2 separate regions of the Homo sapiens genome follow, and region 1 is linked to region 2. Evidence: promoter capture Hi-C in 16 types of primary human blood cells and fetal thymus (Javierre and others, 2016). All regions are on one chromosome and are shown on one strand. Each heading gives the region's core, a stretch centred on a gene start or on the middle of the fragment in contact. The rest is flanking DNA. Distances are from core to core; before and after follow the strand shown.

Region 1 (2,700 bases), core at 87-2,586, 190 kb before region 2:
TTAAAAGTGTTAAAATTTCAGTTTTTGCTGTATTTTTCATAAGATGAAGTATCATTCTAAAATAGTTTACAAATTCATGATAAATTTTAATATTATTTTTCAGAACAGAAGAGTCTGTTATCTCCAAAGGATTGGTAAGATGTTTGTTCCCATTATAACTTAAATACATAGTTATGTCAACAAATAACAGCTGTTGACTTCACTATATATGTATCTGCATATATTTTAATCTGTAGGAGCTGCTGGAGAATAGTTTATTGAGAATAGAAGACAATAGTCTACTTTACCAGTACTTAGAAATCAAGAGTTTTCTTACTGTACCTCAGGTAAATAAAATATGTATTCTAATATTGAAAATAGCCCTTTGCCTGTTCTGAACTTAAAGTAAGGTCTTTTCTGATTCCTTTCCCACTCTTTTCTCTGCAACCTTTGAAAACTCTGGTGTAATGCTGTCCAGTAGAACTTTGACAATATGAAAGCCACTAGCCAAACTGAACACTTGAAATGTGACTAAGGAACTATTTTTTTTTTTTTTGAGGTGTAGTCTTGCTGTGTCGCCCAGGTTGGAGTGCAGTGGTGCTATCTCAGCTCACTGCAAGCTCCACCTCCTGGGTTCATTCCATTCTCCTGCCTCAGCCTCCCGAGTAGCTGGGACTACAGGCGCCCGCCACCACACCCAGCTAATATTTTTGTATTTATAGTAGAGACGGAGTTTCACTGTGTTAGCCAGGATGGTCTCGATCTCCTGACTTCGTGATCAGCCTGCCTCAGCCCCCCAAAGTGCTGGGATTACAGGTGTGAGCCACCACACCCAGCCGGAACTAAGTTTCAAATTTAAATTTTAATTTATTTAAACACGAATAGCTATTAGAGGCCACCATTATTGATAGCACAGCATCCAGTAGAAAAGCATAACTTTCTTCTTTTAACACTTTATTTCTGTAGGGATCTTGGAAAATGAAGCTTCTTTATGTTTCTCATAACTCAAGTTCTCAGGACTCCATCTAAGGCATCCACTGACTCATTACCAGAAAGACTAATACACATTGTGTTTTTCCCTCCTATGGTTTATTTTGCCCAATCCTCTTTGTTAGTTATGATATCCAAGGAAATCCTTAGATTTCAGTGTGGGAACTGGTTTTCCTAATATTTAAATAGAAAAACATGGTTTTTGTTAACATATTGTTTGATTGTTTTTAATTAATAAATTATATTTCTGTAGATTTGATTTCATTTTCTTGCCACTGTAGACATAATTGAAAATTATCGTTTGCTTTTAAAAGTACACTGTGTGACACTCTACTCAATATCACTTAAAAAATCAATTGTAGTTAGCTTTCTGGAATGGAAGGCTTAGGGAAAAATTAATTTACTTCACTTTTAAATCTCCTACCCTCACTTCTCTGAATTTTTAGTATCCTATTGATGTATTATAGTTGTTTGTTTGCAGTCAGTATAATCTGTTTACATCTGAATTTTACATTTTTTTATTTCCAGGGCTTAGTGAAAGTAATGACACTTTGCCCCATTGAGACACTGGTATGTAAATATTTGGTGACTAAAGAATAATGAGTTACAGTGAGAAAATTTGACAAATAATTTAATTTTCTTTTTAAAAATTTTAATTTGTGAAATTTTTATTTAGGAGGTACAAGTGTGGATGTATTACATGCATAAAATGGATAGTGATGAAGTCTGGGTAAGCTTTATTCATTTTATATAATAATATTGTTTGTTCCATTTTAGAGGAAAAAGAGTTTAGCTATGCTTCAGCTGTATATTAACAAGTTGGATTCACAAGGCAAATATACATTATTTAGGTATGTATCAAGCATGGCTAATTGCTAAGTGTGTGGTTGATTAAAAGTCATGTTAATGCCATGTAATTGTTTTAGGGCATAGTATGTCGGTATGTTTTACATGTAATTCAACTCTGGTTGGAACCCATATTATAAATTCTCAGTGATGGCTAGAGAAAGGGTTAATCAAATATTTCAGACATACTATATATATGTCTATATTTTGTATGACTAATAGTATATATTGCAGTTCAATCAATTGGAATACTCTAAATTTGAAATAGACTTAAAAATAATTAAACTGAGATTGATGATGCTCCTGCTGGAACTTTATGTATGTCACTAATCTCCATTACTCACAGTTCAAATTGATGGCTCTGGAATTACAACTTTGATAGGCTATGCACTATGTTAATAGTAAGAGCTTACTAATACTGCTCTTTGAGGTGGATAAGATTCTAGCAACTCTCTAAGTTAAAGATTGGTAAACTTTCTAATTAATTTTCTGTGAAGAGCCAAATAGTAAATATAGGTTTTATGGGCTATACAGTCTCTGTTGCAAGTGCTCAACTTTGACTTTGTATTGGGGATGGGTGTGTTCCAGTAAAACTTTATTGATAAAATTGGGCATCAGGCTGGATTTGCTAAAATGTCTTACCTGGGATTGGCCAATATTAGTACTGTTCTTTTTTGGCGGGTGCAGCAGTGTGATCATGGCTCACTGCAGCCTTCACCCTTGGCCCCCCAGCTTCAGGTGATCCTCCCGCTTCAGCCTCCCAGGTAGCTGGGACTACAGGTGCATGCCATCATGCCCAGCTAATTTTTTTGTGGAGATGGGGTTTTGCCATGTTGCCCAGGCTGGTCTCAAACTCCTGGGCTCAAGCGATTCACCCACCTCAGC
Region 2 (2,758 bases), core at 119-2,618:
AATCCCAGCTACTCGGGAGGTTGAGGCAGGAGAATGGCTTGAACCCGGGAGGTGGAGGTTGCAGTGAGCCGAGATCGCGCCACGGCGCTCCAGCCTGGGCGACAGAGCGAGACTCCGTCTCCAAAAAAAAAAAAGTAGAATGCTGCACAACTTTTAATTATTAGTAATTATGTTTACCTCAGTGGTTCTCATAGTCACCCTAGCCAGCAGCATTAGCATCACTTGGGGCCTTGTTAGAAATGGAAAATTTCAGTGATGCCCACCCAAGTTTAAGAATCAATGTCTTGCTGGAAATGTAAATTAGCTAGGTCATATTTCTAAGCTTCAATTTCTTTGTAAGCTGAAATTACTTTAGCTGGATTCCCAATAACCCGAGAAGGATATCCATGAGGCTTACAAAGGTTAAATGTCAGGAAGACCCTCCATTTGCTTTGGTCCTCACAGGAGCTGAGAGTTGCTGGGAGCTACAGAGAGCTCTAGGTGGAGAGAGGAATCCAGGTCGCAATCAGGAAGCATTTCTGGTAAATTGTTTAAAGAGACCTCAGAAGAGACCTCCAAGACTATAGTATTGTTCTTTCCTCATTTCAAATAATCGTTTTCCTAATTTTATTATTTTTCTTAAAATAGTATAAGCTTATTTTAAAAATTGTGTAAGTTTCAGGACCTGGATCCACCCGACCTTAGTGATTGGAAACAACTAAGCGTGCCTGTGTTGAGATATTTCTAGCAAACTAGTGCTGCACACGACTAAGCTTTTTTTGTTTTCCTTTTGAATCTGGTACATGGTGTCGAGGTGCTCGGGATTGTTTATTCAGGGCGAGCGAAGCCACTTTTCGGAATAGTGGGGAGACTGGCTAACGACCCGCAGTCGCCTGAGGCGAGGAGAACCAAGTGCTGAGGGAGGGGGAGGCAGAGCCGAAAGAAGCCTCAGCTTCGGGGCGGAGGTGGGCGATTTAGGAACTGAAGCAGCCAGAGTTCCCGCCTCCTCCTACCTGAGCAAATCCTGGCTGAGCTGCTCCGACACCGTCGCCTTCAGCCGGCGCCGCTCACACGGCCCCTTCCTTTGCAACCCCTTACTGCAAACTCCAGCGGACCCCAGAAGTACCATGGGGGCCGCACTGCCTTCCCCACAGCGAGCCATGTCTCACAGAGGTACGACGCCCTGGAGGCCCAGTACTTGGCCTCACTTGCCCCGCCCAGGAGGAAGAAGGGGGCGTTTCCGACCGAACGCTCGGCTCCTACCCAAATCCGCCCCCTAGGGTAAAAGGTTGACGCCTCTCGTCGGTTTGTAGACAGTCTCCCAGAGAAGCCGGACCGCGGTGGGGAGCCTCAGAATCCCAGAACCGAGCCGGCTCTTGACCCAGGAAGAGCGTGCGCAGGCGTACTCGCTCTGTTTACTTCTGCCGGCGGGCACCCCGCCTCCCATGGCTCAGGCGCGGACCATCCCGCGGGGCAAACCAATCCTCAGGCTCCTTATCCCCTCCCCTCTTCTTTCCCTTCCGGTTGGTGTTCATTCATTTCAATGTTTTACTGAGGCTCGAGTTCAAATCAGCACATGCAGCCTTTCTATGCTGTGTCTTCCTGACAGGTCTACACTTTTTTCCAACGAAAGACTGGGCGAGTCACACCCCCTCACTTACCTGGCTTCTTAACCCTGAGGTATAAATGTTTGGGGCAAGAAAAATTGGCGATGGGAGGAGTAGGGGAAGAACTTCATAAACTGCCAGTCAGAACAATTCTGAGTTCAATATAAGAGATACTTACAGCATCTAGAAGGCCCCATCCCCTTCTTATCCAAGGAGTGGCTCATACAAGCTTTTGGACTTGATCGGAGAAAGCACAGGGCTTTGCATATAAAGCCCTAACATTTATGACCAAGAAGGGAGAAATAGGTAAGGGGCAAAGTCTTTGAGCAGTGAAGTGATGGATGGATGAAATATAGAATTCTCTTTTGTCCCAAATAAAGTAGCAAACTGATTATCATTTAAGGTTTTGGTATTTTTTATTTGATTACTGCCTCCAAAATAAGGAAACTCAGTAGTTCCGCTTCGGGCCGGGCAAGTCCCATCTACTTGGGAAGCGAGGCGGAATGATGGCTTGAGCCCGGGAGGTCGAGGCTGCAGTGAGCCATGATTGCACCACTGCACTCCAGCCTGAACAGCACAGCAAGACCCTGTCTCAAAAAAAAAAAAAAAAAAAAAAATCTGTTTCATTCACAAACTCTACACACAAGGTGAAGAATAGTAATTGCTTGGAAAATACATTGGCCAGGTTGCGGTGGCTCACACCTGTAATCCCAGCACTTTGGGAAGCCAAGGCGGGAGGATCACTTGAGCCCAGGAATTAGAGACCAGCCTGGGCAACATAAGGAGACCCTGTCTCTACCAAACAAAAAAAAAAAAAAAGGAGGCGGGGAGGGGAATATATGGACTTTGTATTTGTACCATAAGATTGGCCAAGAGGTAACCATTTCTTCAGATAATGCCCCCTCTCAAATATTCAGACATCTTAATTCTGAAAAATATAACTGGATAATTGATTTTTTAAAATTAATTCCCAAATGCTTGGATGGATAATTGATTCTTAATTATTCCTGTAGAAACGAGGGGTGTCAAAGATAACATAATAGTAGCTTATATTTGAATCCTTATTATGTGATAAACGCTACTCTATTTGCTCTGTGTGTTTTAACTCAGTTAATCCTTACAACAACCATTTAGCTAGGTACTGTCTTCAGACCTATTTACAGATGAGGAAG

What was found. The method cuts DNA at HindIII sites, captures the fragments that hold promoters and counts their contacts. A CHiCAGO score of 5 or more calls a contact.
Region 1: a contact is called between a fragment that was not itself captured here and the fragment with the promoter of BTBD8 in region 2, in 3 of 17 cell types (endothelial precursors, M2 macrophages and M1 macrophages). The highest score is 5.9, in endothelial precursors.

What each region holds. Positions count from the first base shown.
Region 1 is chr1:92,265,539-92,268,238 of GRCh38, reverse strand. GLMN (glomulin, FKBP associated protein) reads left to right here. Exons shown (of 19, transcript NM_053274.3): 10 at 104-134; 11 at 237-326; 12 at 1,498-1,539; 13 at 1,747-1,820. Among named protein-coding and RNA genes, the nearest start is that of GLMN, 32 kb to the left of the region's middle. The HindIII fragment of the contact is 741 bases long and covers 966-1,706 here.
Region 2 is chr1:92,078,955-92,081,712 of GRCh38, reverse strand. BTBD8 (BTB domain containing 8) reads right to left here and starts at 1,368. Exons shown (of 18, transcript NM_001376131.1): 1 at 993-1,368. The coding sequence starts at 1,141. RefSeq lists an enhancer at 1-95. The HindIII fragment of the contact is 1,063 bases long and covers 755-1,817 here.